4 separate regions of the Homo sapiens genome follow, and all the other regions are linked to region 4. The links are contacts of gene promoters, found by promoter capture Hi-C in blood cells and fetal thymus (Javierre and others, 2016). All regions are on one chromosome and are shown on one strand. Each heading gives the region's core, a stretch centred on a gene start or on the middle of the fragment in contact. The rest is flanking DNA. Distances are from core to core; before and after follow the strand shown. Region 1 overlaps MYO1D (myosin ID). Region 2 overlaps MYO1D (myosin ID). Region 3 overlaps MYO1D (myosin ID). Region 4 holds the start of MYO1D (myosin ID).

Region 1 (5,163 bases), core at 1,052-3,551, 120 kb before region 4:
TTTGTTACTGAGGATTACAGTAAAAAGTCAAGGACAAAAGCTATTTTCCATGCCAGAATTATCAGATGCAGGAGTAAAATTCTAGCACATGAGCAAGGACTCTACATCTATTGGTTACAAATGACATCATGCTTTCTAAAGAATCATGCTCATTTTTCCTGTTTCTACCAAATTGCATAGTCTGGAGCTCCCTCTCCTGGATTAACATGATTTTATCAATTTCTTCATACTATAAACCAGAGAGGCAGAATTTATCCACAGCAACAAATCATTTAATGAATGTTTATGACTTTTCTTTCTTATTAAAGGGGACATTCTTTTATCCCAACATATAAAGTCGTTGAACTCCATCAAACAATAAGGAGAACCTCACAGATAAAAGGAAGAAGGTGTCATTAAACACATTACCTTTCGGCTGGAAAAATGGGCGTGTTTGCCCAATTTACTGTTAAGTGCTTCAAGAAACATTTCATCGGTGACTTTGCCGACATTCATGCAAGCATCATCAAGGATTGCAATGATCCCTTTGTGCTGTTGCTCCACGAGGTCAACAATGATCTGATTGTTGAAGTAGTCAATCTGTAGGACACAGCAAGGAGGGAATTCTGAAGAGAACAGTGACCAGGCCAGGTTAAACCCTGATGCTCCCATTTGTATCAGGAGTTCAGGTAAAACTACTTTGGTGTCAAATGTGTGAATAACATTAAAGAGGTCTTACGCTAAAAAGAGTACACATTCTAACAGAGGTTTATTTTTAAATTTCTTTGTTAACTTTCTATCATGAAATACACCGTCTGAGATTAGTACAGCCCAAGGCAAAGATAATAAGGTAGACACCATTTCTCCCATTACAAACTCATTTTAATCCTGCCTCCAGATCCCACACCCAACCCTACTCCTTCATACCAATCTGCCTGCCATTAACTGTAAGGTCCACCTTCCACAAAGGGCCAACAAATAACCTTAAAGTATTATCTGATATACTACTTCATAATAAAGTTAAGGTACTACACAAAACTTGCAATTTTATAAAAGTAGGGTACAAGTTAAATGTTTAGTTCTAGAAATTTTGTGCAATATGTTCATAACGATGGCTGCAGTTGCCACAAAGTGCCTCGTTTACCTTTAAATACTGTTAATGTGTCACGCATGCAGATGGAAGGGGTGGAACTGTGCACTAAAGTGGGGGCTTTAACTGTAGTGTTTGGCAGAGTTGCCTTCTACCTGCCAGTTCAAAAGTTCTGTTTTCATGCAGAATATATATACTAAAAAATTTCAGTCTTTTAAACAGCCTTACTCTGATTCAGCCTCTTCAGATACTCTTGTGCTGTGCAGTAGTGGCTCTATGTGTAAATGCCATGCACTGAGGGTACACAAAAATATCAACATTATGTGTACAGGATAATGCCTCATCCCAATCAGATGTCCATTTGTCATTGTGTTTGTTAACAACCCTTTATCTCTTAGTGTTAAATAAACTCCACTTAAAACGGAAAAAAAAAAAAAAGAACTTGCATTTTTAGTTACATGACCCTGAATGACTAAAATCCAAAAGAGCATTTCTTTTGGTTTCCCCAAAGTTAAAAAGCTTCAATAGAATTTTGAACAATTTGAAAAAATTCAGTAGAATTTTTACATTTTTCTAGGCATAATATAAAGAATTTAATTCTGAGAAATAAATATCTATAAAAGATAAGAAAAAGCTTTTCCTTTACTTCCACAAGGTGAATGAAGTTATAAATAACTTCTGGCTTTTCAGCAACTATACATGTACAAGGTTTGTCCAACAATCCTCTGCCACACCTGTTTATTCTGACAGCCTGCAATGTACCTATCACTACACACAGAAGGCACACAAAGAAAGGCCAACTCAGGCAAGCTGCACATCTCAAAGAGGGGCAGCTTATGATCACACAGTTTAATCTTGCTATGTCCCATCTTACGCAGGAGTTACCTAAACTGATTGCTGTCTCCATTACCTTCTATAAGGTCTATATACTCATAATAGACCATTCAAGTGACTCATGTATTCCCATTTCATGCTTTAAAATCCAAGGTTTTATGCCAGTTATTTGTACATGGCTTTTAGCTCCATTTCTAGTCTTGCATGTTCTCTTCTGTATCTTATGGACTGAAACCTGTAAACTGGGTAGTTTTTACTTTGTTTTTTATACTTTTCTGATCTGTCTAAACTAAAGTTTCTCAAATAGGGGAATAGGGGGAATTTTGCTCACCAGGGGACATTTGGCAATATCAGGAGACATTTCTAGTCAAAATGGGGTAGGGGTGCTACTGTCATTTGGTGGGTAGAGGCCAGGGGTGCTGCTAAACATCCTACAATGCATAGAACAGCCTCCACAACAAAGAACTATCTGGCACAAAATCTCAGTAGTACTGAGGTGAAGCAGTGTAGGTCTAAATATTTACTTTCATTATGGGCATTTATTACATTTCTAATTAGGGAGAAAAGTTATTTCCATCTTTGGAAAAAAAATCCTAAAAATACTCAAAAAGCAGGAGCTCTATATTAATAGTTGACATCTTAGACTTCGGGACTGTGAAATTAAAGACGAAGTCTTTTGTCCCAGGGACTAAAGAATTACCTTCCCTAAAATCCCAATTATATTATTAAAAGCTATTGGTCTCTGCTAGTAACTTTCAGTTTGTAAGTTTAATACTGCTTCAAACATTGCTTAAACCAGTAGTTTTCAAACTAAGTTCTTCCAGCAACTTGGCATTCCCGTAAGGTTTCCTAAGGGATACCAGGAGCCAGAAGACTTGTGATGGGGTAGCTTAGGGACATGGGGCTCTGGCCTTTCATACCCACTCCAGATAAAACAGCTTTGTGCTTGAGTATCAAGTTCTCAATAGTTAAAATGATTTGCAAACTACAGCATCGAAAGCTTTTAAAAGTGAATGTACCAGATAACCAGACATTATGAACCTCCTGGTGGAAGTTCACACACAGTCTATGAAATGGGCTGTGGAAAAAAACTGACTCTGAATCCAGTCAAGACTCTAGATCTAACAACCAATATACAGGACATACAAGAAACAGAGAAACATATTAAATGGCACCTGAGGAATGCAATTAGCAAAATCCAGACTGTGGGGAACTCCATAACAAATGACTCATTCTCTTCAACACAAGATTGCAAAGAGAGATCATTCAAGGAAAAAAAGAAACATGGAGAAAATCTATAGATATGCAAGAGACCTATCAATCAATCATAATGTAAGAAACTTATTTGGATCCAAATTTAACCTGCAAAACAACAACCAGAAGACAATTAAGGAAATATGAAACATGTATACTGACTGGATATTTTATGATATTAAGGAATTTTTGTTAATGTTTTAGGTATGATAATGGCATTGTGATTATGGTTTTTGTAAAACTCTCTTAGAGAAATACATGGAAATATTTACTGAATAGATACCCAATTGAATAGATGAAATAATGTGATATCTGAAATTTGCTTCAAAATAATCTGGGAGTAGGTGGGTATAGTACAGATGGCATAAGACTGGCAATCAACTGGTACGTGTTAAAGCCAGGTGATGGGTATATAGGGTTTACTGTACTATAGTCTGTCTTCTTAATGTGTGTTTAAAATTTTCCATAATAAAAAATCTTTTAAAAAGAATCACTATGTTTAGAAGTTTGGGGTTTTACCCAGAATAGAGATTCTAATTGTGGGGGGATCTGCCATGTAGTAAGTAACTGTTACCTTGGAGTTAGCCTTCTGCTCCCTCTAGGACAAATAGTTCTTGGTTTATTTAGCGAAAATTTTTTGCATTTTGGGATTCTTAATTCTTTTTGAGATGTTTGGAACAGTCCACTGCATTACTTACCCTGTTGTCAATTATGTCTGTGAAATTTGATATTCTGATTGTGAAAGGATATTTTTGACTAGTACCTTGGAATCACATTTGAATAACAAGTTTTATGATTAAATTTGGTATTAAAAATCCAAGCTTCAGTTATACCGTGTATTATATTATACAACAGTTTCATTCTTAGAAAGCTTCATATACACTTAATTGAACTGAATTAAATTTTAATTGTATTAGGAGAGTTCATTATTTAAGTCAAACTATAGATAATTCTTATATAAAATAGCCCTTTGGTTTATATGCAGATAGGTAAAATTTATGCCAATATACCTGAGCAACTGTTTTATGGTATTCTAACGTTTAACACATGATGGAAGGCAGATACAATTTTGAGGCGGGAAAGCTATTTGTTATATCACTGTCTCTTTATTTCAGAATGAGAGGAAATAGAAAATAGGTAGGAAGGAAGATAAAAGTCATTTAAATATAGTATTTCAAATATTTTTTTGCTGCTATTATATTGGATAACAAAAAACAAATACTGGCTTCATTTCTATTCTCTGGCAAGAGGATGAACAATCATATAAACTCAAACTACAGAAACTTAAAAGTTTTTGTATTTTTCAAGTTTATTCTCAAAATTGCTTAAAAATACAAACTTACAAGAAAAATTACTATGTCTCATTTCTATCATAAACAGAAGGTCTTATCACAGGAAATTTAAAAACCAAACAAGTCATGCCTTTTAGCTTTGATCTCTGTGGTTTGCACTGTGCACCCATTATACTTTCCAGCTATATCTTACCAGATTAGTTTGCCTCTGACAAATACAAAAGTTCCCAAAGATTGATTAGAGTAGAGGTGATAATTGAAGTGTAATACACAAGAAAATGCAAAGTAAAACAAGTATTTTAATGTGTAGGTTTCAGAGAATATAAACAACATTAACTGAAGACAATAAAATACCATATAGTCTACAAAGTAGAAGAGGAGAAAAAGGAGGAAAAAGGGAAGAAGAAACTAGATTCTGAAGCAAAGTTCAGCCAATTTAAGGTATAACTTAATAAAGTATGCTAAACCTAACAGACAGATATAAACCAGTAAGTCCACGTGGTAGCAGCCATAAAGTGAAAACAGGTTTACTGGTTCTAACTCAGGATGTTCTGGGCATCAACAAGGCAGTCTATCAAATTATAGCAATCCCACCTAAAAATGATGAAATTAATTGTATTTACATATCCCAAAAAGGAAAGCTAAGGTTCAGATGTTTCAAATACCCCCAAAAGATCAAGAAATACCTAAAATAAAATTTGACATTATCAATAA
Region 2 (5,328 bases), core at 2,263-4,762, 83 kb before region 4:
TATTCTAGAAAAATACAATTAAATGGTATCTACTCCAACTCAACTTCTGAGACAGACTTTTCATTGCTGGAGAAGAAGGTCACAGAATATATGGGTCTCAATTGGAATTGGAAGAATCAGTACAAACTCATAGTATATGCAGGGCAAAGAGAGAGAAGAGGGAGAGAGGAAGAAATAGGTATGCACACACACACATTTCCTAACTCTGTCCACTTAGAGAAACAGTAACACCAGATAAAGGCCTGGAAATACCATTTTTCTTAACTAAAAGGACTCAGGGCTCCTTGAAGAAAAGCGGATTCTATCACTGGAACAGGGAAAGTACAAAATGAGCTTGGACTATCTTGTTGAGCCAGAAAGTAGGAAACGCACATGTCAAAAGGACACAGGAGCAAGATGAATGGACTTTCACTGCACCCATCTGGGACCACATGGGCATTAAAATCATGTCAGTAATGAGCTGGGCATGGTGGCTCACACCTGTAATCCCAGCACTTTGGGAGACTGAGGTGGGTGGATCACCTGAAGTCAGGAGTTTGAGACCAGCCTGGCCAACATGGTGAAACCCCATCTCTACCAAAAATACAAAAATTAATTGGGCATGGTGGCACGTGCCTGTAATCTCAGCTACTCGGGAGGCTGAGGCAGGAGAATCGCTTGAACCGAGGAGGCAGAGGTTGCAGTGAGCCGAGATCACACTACTGCATTCCAGCCTGGGCAGCAGAGCGAGACTCCGTCTCAAAAAAAAAAAAAAAAAAAAAAAAGGATATTGTTGGGACAACTGATAAAATCTGAACATCAGCTATGAATTAGAAACCAGAATTGCGTCAAAATTACACTTTCTGATTTTCATCACTGTATTGTGGTTATGTAAGAGAAGATCCTTGTTCTTAAGAAACACACCCTGAATTATTTAATGATAGGGGCCTGATGTCTCCAATTTATTCTCCAATGGTTACAAAAAATAACTACATACATATATAAAAATATACAAAGAGAAATTAAGAAGCAAATAGAGCAAAATGTAAACAACTGATAAAGAACAAAAGGGGGTTTCTTGTAGTATCGTCTACCTTTTTTGTAAATTTGAAATTATATCAAAATTAGAAGTTGATAATAAAAATCCAACTTCTAATCCTCTTTATATAGTTAATTAATTAATTTAGAATAGGCAAGATAGACTCTTAGTAAAAGACTCAAAAGATGTAAATGAATACACAGTGAAAAGTGTTTCTCTCTCCTCTTTCCTATACCTTCCCTCCTCAGAGGCAACCACTGCTGCTGGTTTCCTGTGAATTCATTTAGAAACAGTTTAGTTGTTGTTTTTGAATGAATGGCAATTTTTTTTTCTCTAATTAAAATGTTTATCTTGGCAAAAGTCTCATGTAAGTAGATAGAGAAAAGCCGAGTTTTTTATGGCTTCATAGTATTCCATTTCATGGGTGATTATACAATAATATATTTAATCAGTCCCTATTGGACATTTAGTTTTGTTACTATGAACAATGCAAGTATAAATACAATGGTAGCTATTTCTTTGTGCATATGTGTATGTATATCTGTAGAACGCACATCTAGAATTCAAATTATTAGTTCAAAGGATATAAGCAATTTAAATTTATGAATTATATTGCCAAATTAGTCTCCAAAGAGACTGTACCAATTTAAACTTCTGCTTATAATGTATGAGACTTTCTGTTTCATGGGTGTGGGTTTTTAAACCAACGATACTGGCCTATTTAGAAAGGACAGAGTTTTATTTTCAAAATACACAAAACTTTGACCCCTTTCTACACTTATGCAATGTTCATTAGGTTACTTTCAATAAGGTTCAGCCCACCTTGCCAGTTCTTAGATGAGAATCTCTCCCAAGGGTGAAAGCATCTTGTTTCTGCTTCTCTTGGCAAAAATCATGGTTTCCATGTGATGGAGTCAATTAGTTTTATCCCCTTGTTAGACTGTGTGTTCCTGAGATGGACAGGGACCATATGTTGGAAAGAGTAGGAGCTTTATTTTATTTTTGTTTTTATTTTTCTAGAGACAGGGTCTCGTTCTGTCACTTAGGCTACAGTGCAGTGGTATGACCATAGCTCACTGTAACTTCAAACTCCTGGGCTCAAGTGGTTCTTCTGCCTCAGGCTCCCCAATAGCTGGGACTACAGGTGTACACCACCATGCCTGGCCAATTTTTTGATTTTTCTGTAGAGACAGGTTCTCTCTATGCTGTCCAGGCTGGTCTGGAGCTCCTGGCCACAAATGATCCCCCTACCTTGGTCTCCAATTATGAGCTTTAGAGTCATACAGCACTGGAGCCCTGGGTTTGAACCCTGGCTCTGCCAGTTACTGATTGTGTGCATTTATAAACATCTGAGTAACTAGTAAGTGTCCATGTGCCAGGTACTATGTCAAGAGCACTCAAGCTGTCTTAAAATGATTTGGAAAAGATGCTTTGTTTTGACCTTTTGTTAACACACTGAAGCCTAGAATTGACAACTTGGAAGAGGGCACTTAAGAAGCACCACCACAGTCCACCAGTGCAGCACTCAAGCTCTTGACATAGTACTTGGCACATGGACACTTACTAGTTACTAGAAGAATAAGACATAGTATTATTGTACTCAAAGGCTTATATAAATAGACAATGCTATGCAGTAAGCACAACGATAGAGGGTTTAAAAACTAGGCTTTTTTTTTTTTTTTAAACTTATTCCCTTCTTGTTCTCATTCTCCTCTGTCTCTCAATCTCTCTCTCTGTTCCAGAAAAGATTTAAGGCAATAACAAAGATAGAAAGAATGTCATGGAAGCTTAGAGAAGGATACCTAAACCAGCTTTAGGAGTGGGAGGCTTCAAAGAAGACTTCCTAAAAATTGTATTGCTTGACATTTGAATTATTTATGCAATTATATAATCTCCACATAGACAGTTCTAACCACTTCTTGGTTTACACTTTCTTAAAATGATTTGGAAAAGGATGCTTTATTTTGATCTTTTGTTAACACACTGAAGCCTAGAATTAACAACTTGGAAGACAGCACTTAAGAACCACCACCACAGCCCATCAGTGCAGCATATGGGTATTCCCAGGCCCATCGATAGCAGAGGAAAGGGTGTATTGATTAAGAAGGTGGACTCTGGGATCTGGCTGCAGTTTAGCACTGACTAGCTCTATGATCACGTGGAAGCTGTTTAACCTCCCTGTGCCTCACTTTCTTCAACTGATATAGTACCTTTCCCTCAGAGGATTGTTACAAGAAGTGAGATACTCTGCATAAAGTGCTCAGCACACTAATTAGTACATGGTAACAGCACAATAATACCAAGTCGTATTTTTATTATGAGCAATAGCAGAAGTCATAAGAATGGCAGGAAATATCTTTCTTCCACTTGAGACCCATTGTTCAGCATGCGGCATCAGTGCTATGTTTCTGTTTAACATCACAGTGAGGGTTACTTCTGCTAGCACAGCGAACGGTGATCCAGCTTGGCTTCATGTTTATAAAGCATTCTTCTAGCAGTTCATGGGGACCCTCTAAGGCCAAATGCCTTCAGTAAAATTGCTTAGGCTTACCACAGGACATAAGAACTAGTTAGGACCACAGGTGGTGGATTAAATGACTGACGTTGTGACTTCATTTCTTGGCTTTCTTCTTCTGGTGCAATATTTCTTCATTTGAGCTGCACAAATGGTAGTTAACCAGAAGATGTGGTCAGGAGATGCCTAGATGAATTATCTTACCTTTCCTCTGCAATGGAAAACAACTGTTTTTGATATATACGTTTTTAGGTGATGCTTGCTTTTTCAAAACACAATTCTTTTATTTATTATGGCATGCCTAATTTTAAATGTTATTGATGTATTTAATTGTATTTGTATCCAGTTGTTTATTCAATCAATCATTAGTTATTAGCACTCATGTTCCAAGCATTGTGCTGGGAGCCACAAGCAGAAGAATAAACAGCAGACTCATCTCCACCCTAATGCAGGCAATGATAAGGACAGACACTAAATGGAGGTCCAGGGAGAGCCAATAGAATGCACTGTACTGGTGGAGGGAAGCAGCAGTGTTTGAGGAATCCAGAGCAGGGCATGTGACTATACCACAGCAGAGAGAGCATAGGGAGAGAGGTGTGGGAGGAGGGCCAGAGCGCGCAAGGCCTTAGGGCTTGTGGACTTTATCCAAGGGTGGAGCTTTAAGTATTGATCACATTTGCTTTTTTGAAAGCTTCCCTTTGGCTGCAGGGTGTAAGGAATTGAGTGCCTGCTAATGGACCAATTAGGAAGCACTACGCTGGTCTCAGGAAGGAATGACGGGTTCTCTGGTTGGGATGGAGCAGTAGAGAGACAGAGAAGTAGACAGGCTTTAAGAGTAGAGATATAATCTATTGGAGACGGTAACTTACTGGGTATGAGAGGCAAGAAAGAAGGAAGTGTCAGGGTAAGTATCTCACATGAGCTACTGAGCAGACCGTGATGCTCCATTAATGAGGATAGGGACAGGAGGCAACTGTGATTCAGACAGACTATGCAATCTGTTTGAGACACCTGAGAGACATCCAAGTGAAGATGTTTCTCACACTTCTTTCTCTCATAGAATTAAACCCGATCCCCTGAACACAAAGTGAACAACACCAAGGATGGCAAACACAGATCATCAGCAGTGGAGAGAGCAAGCAGATAACCACACCATCACGGCCAGCAAACACGGCAAGGAGAACACATACTTCATTGCCCCATTTAAAAGTGGAAAAATATTTTAAAGAGACAGGAGATATCTGGGTTCTATTTAAATTTTTTTTTTTTTTTACTAACTGAATTCATCATACCAAGTTCCTCAGTGATTCAACCTTCCTGGTATAATAGAAACAAACACAATAGCTTCCTCCCATAAAACGTTAACTACTAAGGTCTCATGCAATTCAGTTTTTTAAAAAATACAATAAAGAAGCTATACAATGTCAGCACATGAATAAATCACCATAGCATTATTTAGCTATGAAGTGCTTGTAAGATTCTCCCCGGGGCCTGAAAGCTTAAGGAGATGAATAACTCCTCTCTTCTCAGGCCCAGTTCCAAGGTGCAACTTGGGGCAGCAACTTGCGCCAGCAAGACAGCAGAAGGAGGAAGAGAGTCCGCCTGAAGACAAGTACTCCTAAAGACTGAGAAAGAGGCCATCCGGGTACAACATAGCAGTTACGTCAGACTACGACACTTCCTGTTTACAGGAGACTATAAAACCTTTGCCCCGTCCTCACTTGGTGCTGAGGCCATTTTAGGCCTCAGCCCGCCTGCACCCAGGTGCTCATTAAAACAGCATGTTGCTTCACAC
Region 3 (5,297 bases), core at 244-2,743, 100 kb before region 4:
GAAACAAACTGAATTTGTATTCTGATCTCTAGAACTCCCAAATATGGAAACAACAGCTTCAATTCAAAATAAAACAAAAATTAATTTAACATTTAGAATGTACCATTTCAAAAGCTTTCACAGTCATTAAAGTGTTATCTGTACTGCAAGAAAATATGGGGGATGCTCACCCAAGGCAGTCATCTGGTTGGCTAAGCTCCTGCCAGCTGGGTGGAACAGTCATGTTCATCCAATCTCTTAAGCAGGTAGGGCAGGGCATGTGGTGCGTGCGTGCGTGCGTGCATGCGTGACATGTTACGGGGCCAATGGAGATGAGTGATGCATAGGACAGGGGAAAGCCCAAGACACAAATACTCATTTCCTGCACAACTGGGCAAATGATCAATTATCTGTATAATGGATTACTAACCTGATAGAAAGAATGAAAGCTTCTTTCTCCTGGCTGTTGCACAATCACTCGAGACTAAGAAAAAACACATTAAAATGGTTAACCCGAAAATGTGCCCCTAAAATAAAACAGGAGCCACTTTCTTAGGGAACTGTCAGGCCTCTGAGCCCAAGCCTGCACGTATACATCCAGATGGCCTGAAGCAACTGAAGAATCACATAAGAAGTGAAAATGGCAGATTCTTGCCTTAACTAATGACATTTGGTGCCGTGACTTGGATCGGGGGAGCTCCCTTGGGAGATCAATCCCCTGTCCTCCTGCTCTTTGCTCTGTGAGAAAGACTGACTTACGACCTCAAGTCCTCAGACCAACCAGCCCAAGGAACATCTCACCAATTTTAAATCAGGTAAGCGGCCTCTTTTTACTCTCTTCTCCAACCTCTCTTACTATCCCTCAACCTCTTTCTCCTTTCAATTTCGGCGCCACCCTTCAATCTCCCCCTTCCCTTAATTTCAGTTCCTTTCCTTTTCTGGTAGAGACAGAGGAGACGTGTTTTATCTGTGAACACAAAACTTCAGCACCGGTCACGGATTCGGGAAGACAGTCTTCCCTTGGTGTTTAATCACTGCAGGGACGCCTGCCTGATTATTCACCCACACTCCATTGGTGTCTGATCACTGTGGGGACACTTGCCTTGATCCTTCACCTTGGTGGCAAGCACCACTTTCCTGGGTGGCAAGTACCAACCCCACCCCACTCCCTACCCCCACCCCCCGACCCCGGCCCATGTCTCTACCCTCTCTTTTCTCTGGGCTTGCCTCCTCCACTATGGTCAACCTTCCACCCTCCATTCCTCCTTCTTCTCCCTTAGCCTGTGTTCTCAAGAACTTAAAACCTCTTCAACTCACACCTGACCTAAAACCTAAACACCTTATTTTCTTCTGCAATACCACTTGACCCCAATACAAACTCAACAATGGTTCCAAACAGCCAGAAAACAGCACTTTAAATTTCTCCATCCTACAAGGTCTAGACAATTATTGTCGTACAATGGGCAAATGATCTGAGATGCCTGACGTCCAGGCATTCTTTTACACATCGGTCCCTCCCTAGTCTCTGCTCCCAATGCGACTTGTCCCATATCTTTCTTCTTTCTCTCCTGTCTGTTCCTTTAGTCTCCACCCCAAGCTCTGAGTCCTCTGAATCCTCCTTTTCTACAGGACCTCTCCCCTCCTCCCCAGGCTGTGCCTTGCCAGGCTGAGCCAGGTCCCAATTCTTCCTCAGCCTGTGCTCTCCCACCCTATAATCCTTTTATCACCTCCCCTCCTCACACCCGATCTGGCTTACAGTTTCGTTCCATGACTAGCCTTCCCCCACCTGCCCAACAATTTCCTCTTAAAGAGGCGGCTGGAGCTAAAGGCATAGTCAAGGTTAATGCTCCTTTTTCTTTATCCGACCTCTCCCAAATCAGTTAAATATCCTAAAGACCCCCATGGATTGTATACTCATCTAAGAATGAGTCTTCTCTATGGGGTTTCCCCTGCAATTCTTTGATAATTCTTTTTATTGCTTAAAACAGAGGTCCCTAAAACTTTCTGAAGAATGAAGCTATTTTGATTTTTTTAACCTGGAGCCTAAAGATGGAATTTGGTGGTTGGGGGTGGGGTAAGAATTAGAAGTGGGGAGAATAGGAAGGAATGCTTAGGGAGGAATATTCTCAACATTCCTTTCCCCAGGGTCTGCTGGCATTTCAAAGAGCAATGCCTTATATCCTGTAATAAAAGTCAGTTGAGCAAGATCAATCCATAGAGACCTCTGCCTTAGATGGTTCCAAAAATACTGCTGTTAGGAGAGGGTTCAAAATATGAGTTCATTCAAAAGGATCCTTTTGATTGAATATGTATTACACATAAAGTGAACTGATGAAACATTCTGGAAAAAGGACTGATAATAATACCTGGCATTTCCTGTCCTTTTTCAACTGACTCTGATAATACATTTATTTCCTTAACAGTCCGACTTCAATATAACAAACAAAAATAAAGATTATACTTCATTATATGGCCATAAAGGATGCTATGGCCTAACTGGGATAGGAAACCCTTAACTGAGAAAACCTGTCGGCTTAGATCTGTATGAATTCAAGGTGGAGACTTGATTTTATAAAGCACAAGCTTAACTGTAAAAATGAACTCTATGTATTCTCTTGCAGTCATGTCCACTGATAATCAAGATTAGTTAAGACACAACCAGCTGGGTGCAGCAGCTCATGCCTGTAATCCCAGCACTTTGGGAGACTGAAGCAGGAGGGCTGCTTGAGCCTAAGAGTTTGAGACCAGCCTGGGCAACACAGGGAGACCCCATCTCTACAAAATAAAAAAAAAATTGCTGGGTATGGTGGGCCATGCCTGTGGTCCCAGCTACTCAGGAGGCTGAGGTGGGAGGATTGCTTGAGCCTGGGGGGTTGAGGCTGCAGTGAGCCATGTTCATGCTACTGCACTCCAGCCTGGATGACAGAGTGAGACTCTGTCTCAAAAAACACAAAACCAAACCAGACACAACCTCTCTGGTGGTCCCAAGAAGAAAATTCTAATTGGAATCCTCTAGAAATTGGGCCTATTTTAAGTTTTTACTGACCAAATACAGTTCGCTTCATAATTAGGATGTAAGATCACAAAATACATATATGTTACTATAAAGCAATGAACAAATAGAAACTAGAAGAAAATGAGATATCAAATTAATTAAAATTAAAATGTATAGAAGATGGTGATGTATAAAAAGGCTAGAACTGATTAGTCTTAGATTGACTTTCGGTTAAACCTTACCCAGAAGCTGGCACACACTCATACCTGTGCCCCCACCCATTCACACGCATAGCTAAATCTATCTACAAAGTCCACAACTTTTTCCAACTTGACAGTGTAAGTGCTAAGAAGAGAAGACAAAAGGAGAATACCTTATCATAAAAAGCTAATGAAGAAGGGAGAATAGGATTTAAAGCTATTTTGAGTCAATAAAATAAATTCTATAAATATAATTTGTTTAAACATTCAGCACTTAAAACATTACCCTCAGAAATTAAGCATATTTTACCTTTTCTAGTAAGTAGTTATTGATATGCCCACCAATAGGGTCACCCTTGAAGTCAAAGTTGATATCCATGTATTTTCCAAACCTGCTTGAGTTGTCATTACGGTTGGTTTTGGCATTTCCAAAAGCTTCCAAAACACAGTTGGACTTAAGCAACATATTCTTCACTCTTTAACACAGATAAATGAAAGTCATTATAAAAACTTATAGAGACTAGAATTTTTTAAAAACTGGATTTTGCTAAACCACATACAAATATTTATACAAAGATGCTAACTCCAGCACTGTTTGCAATATCAAAAAAAAAACAAACAAATTAATGTCCACCAATAGGGATAAAAATAAATTTTTGTTTCCCAATATAATGAAATACTATACAGGTGCTAAAAAGAATGAGGTACATCAATATGTACTCACATGGAAATGTCCAGCATATATTAATGAATATAAAATCAAGTTGTCAAATAACATGCATTGCAGGATCCTTGTGTGTGTATGTGTATGTTCACGTGTGTGTGTGTGTGCATACACATGTATCAGCAAATGCTTAAAAATCTGGAGGGATCAGCACACCTTACTATGGTTATCTAGACAGGAGACTGATGGAATGGGCAAGGTAGGATTTCAGGGAACTTTTACATCTTCAACTTAATTCTGTAATTTTTGTTTTTCATTTTATAAATGTACATATTTTATCTACATAAAGAAAATTTTTAAAAAGATGTGTTCTGAAAAGGGAAAGAATAGGTGATACAGAAAATGATACAATTTTTAAGGCACTTGCTTATAAAACCTGGAATTGTGACATTTTATTGTACTTAGTTATACATCATAAATTTAATCTTCACTAGTTCAGAAATTGCTCATTATTTTCTTTGAAGCTGTATGGAATTTCTCCTTTGTACCAGCCATTTAATGCATTCTTTATTCGACGAATGCTAACTTTCTATACAGCAGTCCCTCCCAATGGATACATTTTAAACTTCATGCTATATCCTTGTTTTCATTCCACTGATAAAATTCTTCTTATACAGGCATACCTGCAGAAATAACTTTGGCCTCTGAAATAACTTGATGTAGAAGATCTACTGTTACTCCCGCTAATACTGGAGAGTTCAACCTTATCGCCTCATAAATGAAAGCATATTTTAAAAATATGTGTGTGGGGGGAAACTGCTTGTGATAAGATATGTTTGTGAAAGACTAGTAAATTTATATATGCCTTACTCTACTATTGTAGGTGTGAAATTAATTTATTTCTCATCTAGTTGCTCTCCTGAGCTCCTAAGGAAATTAAGAAAATTTACACATATCCCTGTCCTTGTCAAACTAGATTGTAAAGTCAGAGTAAGAAGGAGGGATATGTTACAATTAAGAAAAATGCCTCTCCTGGCCCAGCAATGCAGCCCAATATGATGAAAAGAAGAAAGGCTACGCAGGGTAGTGAAGTGTAAGTTCTCTTCTTTTACATCAACCCAATATCCTTTCTTCCTATTTATAAAACTGAAGATTGTTATGTGTAGATGAGGTGGGACTCTTTACTAAATTAGTACTGAGCTTTGAAGTAACCAATTAGGAAAACAGTTTCTCTCTTCAAAAAGGCTGCACCACATAAGAAAGTGAGTCTTGTTGCTTTATAGCTATCATCCATTCATCCCTTAAGTATTTGTTAAGCAAATACTATGTGCCAGCTGCTCCCCTAAATGCTGGGCCCCAGACAGTAGAGATCAGCTTTATTACTCATCTTCCCATGAGCAATAGCACAGTATGGCATGAAATCCTTTTAGAAAATGAATCCTGTTCGGCCGGGCGCGGT
Region 4 (5,570 bases), core at 229-2,728:
ATCAGAAATGTAACATCCTATCATTATGCTGGTATGTAATCAACCTGATTGACCCCTGTCAACTGGATTGACAGGGGTAGTTAATAATGAAATTAGGGTTAAGCACCCAAGCCTAGATTATGACTTTCACTTTATAAGCTTAAGGAATGATGTTTAGCTATAAACCTTAGAAGAAATGCAGCCAAAGCTTGCAGGGAAACATACACACGCACACCAAAACTCAGCTATTTTGAAATTCCACTTACTTTAATGTTTAAGTCAAACTACTTTAAAACTGTTTACATATTACTCTATCAAGGGTGAAATAATCGCATGTAAAGGGCTTTCTAAAACAAATCCACATCTTGGAAGCCCATTTTGGGGCGTTGAGTTGTGACTACGTTCTCAAGGATGTTAATAACACAAGAGCTCCATCCACTAACTCCTTGAAAAAAACCAAAACCATGAACGTCTTGTCAAATTCAGACAGTTTATCTTGGCACTGGCAAGTACAGCAGTCTCTTCGATGTCTGGAAACGTGTCTAATTACGTTTAGAGAGTAACTAAAAAAATAGCCAGTGTCCCGGAACAGACAGCTCAGGGATCACTCCATAGCATCCTGAATGACAGGATGGAACTACGCCAGGAGGAAAAAAAAAAGAAGGGCGAAGAAAGAAAGAAAAGAAGCAAGTGTAAAGCCGGGATGAGACGCCAGCCTCTCTCCAAAATAATCCTCCAGTCCTCCTAGGGCCTTCGGGGCCACCGCAACTCTCGTTCAAGTTATTTCCCTTCAGTTTCCATGAGGTCACCGGCCCGCCCACATCCCTCACCTGGCGCGGGGAAGCGCGCCCTCCCGCGCGGCACACCCTCTGCACCTAAACCCCGGACAGCGCCCAGGGCTCCCCTCTCAGGGAAGCGCGGCCCTTGAGCTCGACACGCCCCCCGCACCCCAAAGCGGCCGCACCCCAGGGGCGTCCGCTCTCGGGAAAGCGCAGCCGCGGAGCTTGGCAGACCCCCGGACACCGCAGCCCGGCCGCGCCTCCATCCCTGGAGCTTGGGCGCTCCCGACACCCCGGATCCGGCCGCGCCCCGAGGCGCCCCCTCTCGGGAAAGCGCAGCCTCGCGCCCCTGCGCGCGGCCGCTCCGCCCTCACCTGAGCCTGAGGTTGGCCATGAACTCGGGCATGGAGACGGTGTCCATCAGCACGAAGTCTGCCTTGCCGAATTCCAGGCTCTCCTGCTCCGCCATGGCGCCAGCGCGGGGGCTCAGGTGGGCGCGCTCGGGCCTCCGGGGCCGCTCCGTGGGCCCGCGATGAGCTCGGGAGGGGCCGGGGCGAGGCCGCGCCGCGAGGCTACGGGGAGGGGGCGCGCACGCCGCTCGGCGGGTCCGGGCCGGACAGAGGCCGCCTCGCTGCTCCTCGGCGCCTTCTCGGCCGGCGCGGCTCCGAACGGGACGCACCCGACAGTTTCCGCTCCTCCCGCCGCGGCTGCCGGGCGCTGTAGGGGCCGGGACACCGAGACGGAGACGGCAGCGGCTGGTCCCGCCTCCAGCCTGGGGCTCGTCCCGGCTCCGCCCCGCCCGGGCCTCCCGGCTCCGCCCCTCCCGGCCCACTGAGGAGCCCGCCCCAGCCGCGGCCCTGGCCGCCGCCTCTTCACCTGGGCGGCGCGCACGCGCGGGTGGGCGGCGGGGACGCGCGCTGGGCCGGGCGGCGGCAGCTGGGTGGCAGCGCCCCCTGGGGACAGGCGCTGGGATCTCAGGCGGCCAAGAGGATGGCCGCCTGCCGCCCACACTTGGTAGCTGCCAACAAAGTTAGAAAAGTAGTTCGTGGAGCTTTTCGCGAGGACAATTCATTATGATTCTGTCACCCTGCTCCAAAACCCACTCCCGCCTCTCTACTCACACCCTGCCCATTCTTGAAGTGGTGGTTCAAGCACAGACTGAGAGGTAATAATAATGGCTAACATTTTTGGGGCACCAAAAATGCCCAGAGCTGTTCTCAGCGCCTTAGAGAACTTTTAAGAAACTTGCCATACGACTAGGAAGTGGAGCAGCTGCGGTTTCACGCAGGTCATTTGACTTAGGAGCCGCAGCGTTCAACCACGTCTGACTACCTCCATTCTTCAGTGGCCCATTTTCTCTTCCACTCATCCGAGCATGTCATCAGACATTACCTTATATGATTATTAAGTTTTTAATATATCTTTGTATCATCTCTCCAGGATTATTGCGGATGTCTTGAGCATGGGACCATTCTTTTTGCATCCACCAAATAACTATTGTACTACTTTGCATATATAAATATGAAATCCATACTGGTTCAGTGGAATGAAGTGAGTTGTAAGTAGTCTCCAATTTATTGATACATTGGTTGAGCTTGGAAAATTCTTTTTGAACTCAATGTATTTTCCCAAAGAAAATATACTACAAATGACTTTCTTTCTTTTTTTTTTTTTTTTCTTTTTCTGGAGACAAATTCTCCCTCTGTCACCCAGGCTGGAGTGCAGTGGTGCAATCACAGCTCACTGCAACCTCAAACTCCTGGGCTCAAGCAATCCTCCAGCCTCAGCCTCCTGAGCAGCTGGGACTACAGGTGTATGACACCATGCCCAGCTATTTTTTTTAAATAAATGACTTTCTAAGGTATCTACATTTATTCAGTCCTGTGTTTCTGTTAGGACATCTTCTATTACAAAATCTACGAGGAAATCTAGAGGCCTCCAAGGACCTGGCTGGGCTTCAACTCTGGCTGAGTTTGAGATGAGTAAACCAGACTGAAGGACCTTGCCCAAGGCCTGCTTCAGCTGCCAGCCACCCACACTTGCTAAGAGAAAGGAAAGGAGCTTTGTCACCTCCTGAGGGACTGCCTCTGCCATCAGAAAACCACCCCAATCCCTGGCACCAGCAGAGCTGGGTTGCATCTGACTACCGTTAGCAGCTGTCCTTCAGAAGGAGGAGATCCACCTGTCTCGATATCAGTGTCCTCATTTGTGGAATAAAAGCTCTGGAATAAGGTAGGACTGTCCTATGGTTGGGTCATTTGTGGAGGTGTCGGTCAGTGGCTAAGTAGGTTATTGCATAGGGTATGGTTGTATTCCTAATGTTTGTATTGGCATGTTTTAACATAAGCAGAACTGAACTTCAAGAAGGAAAGAAAGAAATCTCAAACTGTATGCACTTTGGAGCATCCAGGGACCACACCCCAAAACCTTTTGGTAAATTATATATGTGTGTTCCCTGAGCTCTGTAGGTGTTAAAAATTAGGGCAAAATCCCAGGTACCAGGAAAAGAAACATCACGGCTTGCAGATGATGAGAGAGTTGCAGAAATTGTACAGTGGTTAGGAGCTATGGTGGGATACAATGTGGTTTCCAAATGGCCAAAGTAAGAGATCCTCATTTTAATCAACATCTTATATAGGAACCCAACATATAAAACACATATACAACATATGCAAAGGGTATTTTATTAATTTCTTGTATAAGTCCAAATTAGTATAAAATTAGGCATTGATGCTCTCATGATGAACCCAAATCTGCTCAATGGGGCTCACTATTAGCCTCAGGATTCCAGTTTACTTTTGTATGTTGTTTTCATTGTACTGTGTCAAGCAAATTCTTGTTTGTATAACTAAGCAGTAATTTGTTACCCATACAACTTTACATTCAGCATTTCTAGGCCAATGTGCAGTTACAACATTATTAATCAATGACACACTTGAGCAAAGTTCAGGTATATGCACAGCCGGCAGGAGAGACTGAATACTCTGGTCTGCATTCAGTCAAGGTAACCTAGAGCAGATTAGCTCATTATGAATGTTCTTTGTGATAAAATTTGAATAGAAACACATTTGGAGATGCATGTTTTTGTTACAGTTTAAAATATACAAAAAATAAAACAAATAAAAGTTTATATCCCCAATCATGAGACACACAGACACCATGAGCCTCCTGATATGGTCTCCTGAAAAAGACACATATCATTTACCTGCTAAAAATACGTAAATGGAATCTAATCATGAAGAAGCATCAAACAAACTCACATTAAGGGGCATCCTACAAAACAATTGACCTGTATTCTTCAAAAATATCAATGATGTGAAAGACAAAGAGGCTGAGGCACATCACTATTAAAGGCAATGGGTGATTCTGGACTGGATCTCCAACCAGAAAAATGTAAAGGACATTGTTGGGATAATTGGTGAAATTCAAATATAGACGCGATGTTAGATAGTAGGATAGTATCAATGCTAGTTTTTCTGAACTTGATCATTTTACTGGGATTCTGCAAGATAATGTCCTTGTTTCTAGCAGGTATCTGCTAAAGTATTTAGGAGTAAAATGATGTCTCGAACTGTTTGGCAAGAATAATAAAAATAATAAGATGAGGAGGTGGAAGGAGGGCGTGCATATATATTGGTAGACATATAAATGATTAAAGCAAATGATGCAAAATACTAACAAGTGGTAAAGTCATTAAAAATATATGGGACTTTTGAGGGGATTTTCTTTTGTACTATCCTCACAACTTTTCTGTAACTTTGCAATTAGTTTGAAATTTATTCATTTATTTTGAGACGGAGTCTTGCTCTGCCGCCCAGGCTGAAGTGCAGTGACACGATCTCGGCTCACTGCAACCTCCGCCTCCCGGGTTCAAGCGAGTCTCCTGCCTCAGCCTCCTGAGTAGCTGGGACTACAGGTGCATGCCACCATGCCCAGCTAATTTTTGTATTTTTAGTAGAAACGGGGTTTCACCATGTTGGTCAGGCTGGTCTCAAGCTCCTGACCTCATGATCTGCCCACCTCAGCCTCCCAAAGTGCTGGGATTAGAGGTGTGAGCCACCACACTCGGCCTGAAATTTAAACTTAAAAATTAAATAGTAATCTAAAACTGTGCTAAATAAAAATTTTTAATTTAAAAATATTAAATAACACTTAGAAATCAAAGTCACATCAGAATTTTGCAAACCTTCCAGAACTGAAGAACCAGCAGATATTTTTGAAAACCCTGGTCCAGGGTACCTCTTAGCTCTATTTGGCATAGATGTGCTAGGAGATTATAAACACTGAACAGGTAATTCTAAAAACAAAAATAATTAGATGTCAAATATACCCATATGCCCCTGAGAAGGTGCATCCTGTTCTCTGCCTGAAGTTCTCCCCGCCACCCCACCCCTCACTCCTATGACCTAGCTAACTTCCGCTCATCCCTCCGCTCTCAGTCTCAACATCACTTCCTCCAAGAAGGCTTCCATAATCTCCTGAGTCAGAATTGGCTGTTCCTCCTCTGTGCCTCCTGCAGCATCCTGGAAGTGCTGCCCCCATTACAGTACTAAATGCCCTTGAGCCTACTGTCTGTCTCTCTCACTCGTTTGTAAGGGCCATGAGGGCTGGAAGCTGTCTTTTCTGGTTTTTGATGTAAATGTAATTCTGGCACCTCCTAGCATAGTGCTAAGAGATGAAGTGCTTAATAAACTGTTGCTTGATAAATGAATATGGAATGGTCTGTGAACCTATGGGTCATAAAATGTGAGACTGTAAATCCACCCCCCTTGGTAGTTTTCTGCATTGCAAATTAGTCATTGTACAACATTA

Evidence for each region. The method cuts DNA at HindIII sites, captures the fragments that hold promoters and counts their contacts. A CHiCAGO score of 5 or more calls a contact.
Region 1: a fragment that was not itself captured here is called in contact with the fragment with the promoter of MYO1D in region 4 in 2 of 17 cell types (endothelial precursors and activated CD4 T cells); the score reaches 6.7 in endothelial precursors.
Region 2: a fragment that was not itself captured here is called in contact with the fragment with the promoter of MYO1D in region 4 in 15 of 17 cell types (endothelial precursors, erythroblasts, megakaryocytes and 12 more); the score reaches 12.2 in endothelial precursors.
Region 3: a fragment that was not itself captured here is called in contact with the fragment with the promoter of MYO1D in region 4 in 14 of 17 cell types (endothelial precursors, activated CD4 T cells, total B cells and 11 more); the score reaches 13.8 in endothelial precursors.

The regions. Positions count from the first base shown.
Region 1 is chr17:32,755,084-32,760,246 of GRCh38, forward strand. MYO1D (myosin ID) reads right to left here. Exons shown (of 22, transcript NM_015194.3): 11 at 409-579. Among named protein-coding and RNA genes, the nearest start is that of MYO1D-DT, 120 kb to the right of the region's middle. The HindIII fragment of the contact is 1,200 bases long and covers 1,702-2,901 here.
Region 2 is chr17:32,790,624-32,795,951 of GRCh38, forward strand. The region is part of intron 1 of MYO1D (myosin ID); the gene reads right to left. Among named protein-coding and RNA genes, the nearest start is that of MYO1D-DT, 84 kb to the right of the region's middle. The HindIII fragment of the contact is 1,419 bases long and covers 2,804-4,222 here.
Region 3 is chr17:32,772,380-32,777,676 of GRCh38, forward strand. It overlaps MYO1D (myosin ID), which reads right to left. Exons shown (of 22, transcript NM_015194.3): 4 at 3,485-3,650; 5 at 410-463. Among named protein-coding and RNA genes, the nearest start is that of MYO1D-DT, 100 kb to the right of the region's middle. The HindIII fragment of the contact is 2,134 bases long and covers 427-2,560 here.
Region 4 is chr17:32,875,646-32,881,215 of GRCh38, forward strand. MYO1D (myosin ID) reads right to left here and starts at 1,479. Exons shown (of 22, transcript NM_015194.3): 1 at 1,133-1,479. The coding sequence starts at 1,227. It overlaps MYO1D-DT (MYO1D divergent transcript), which reads left to right and starts at 1,210. Exons shown (of 4, transcript NR_184086.1): 1 at 1,210-1,248; 2 at 2,199-2,316; 3 at 2,655-2,990. RefSeq lists silencers at 815-1,804, 1,011-1,198. The HindIII fragment of the contact is 7,647 bases long and covers 186-5,570 here.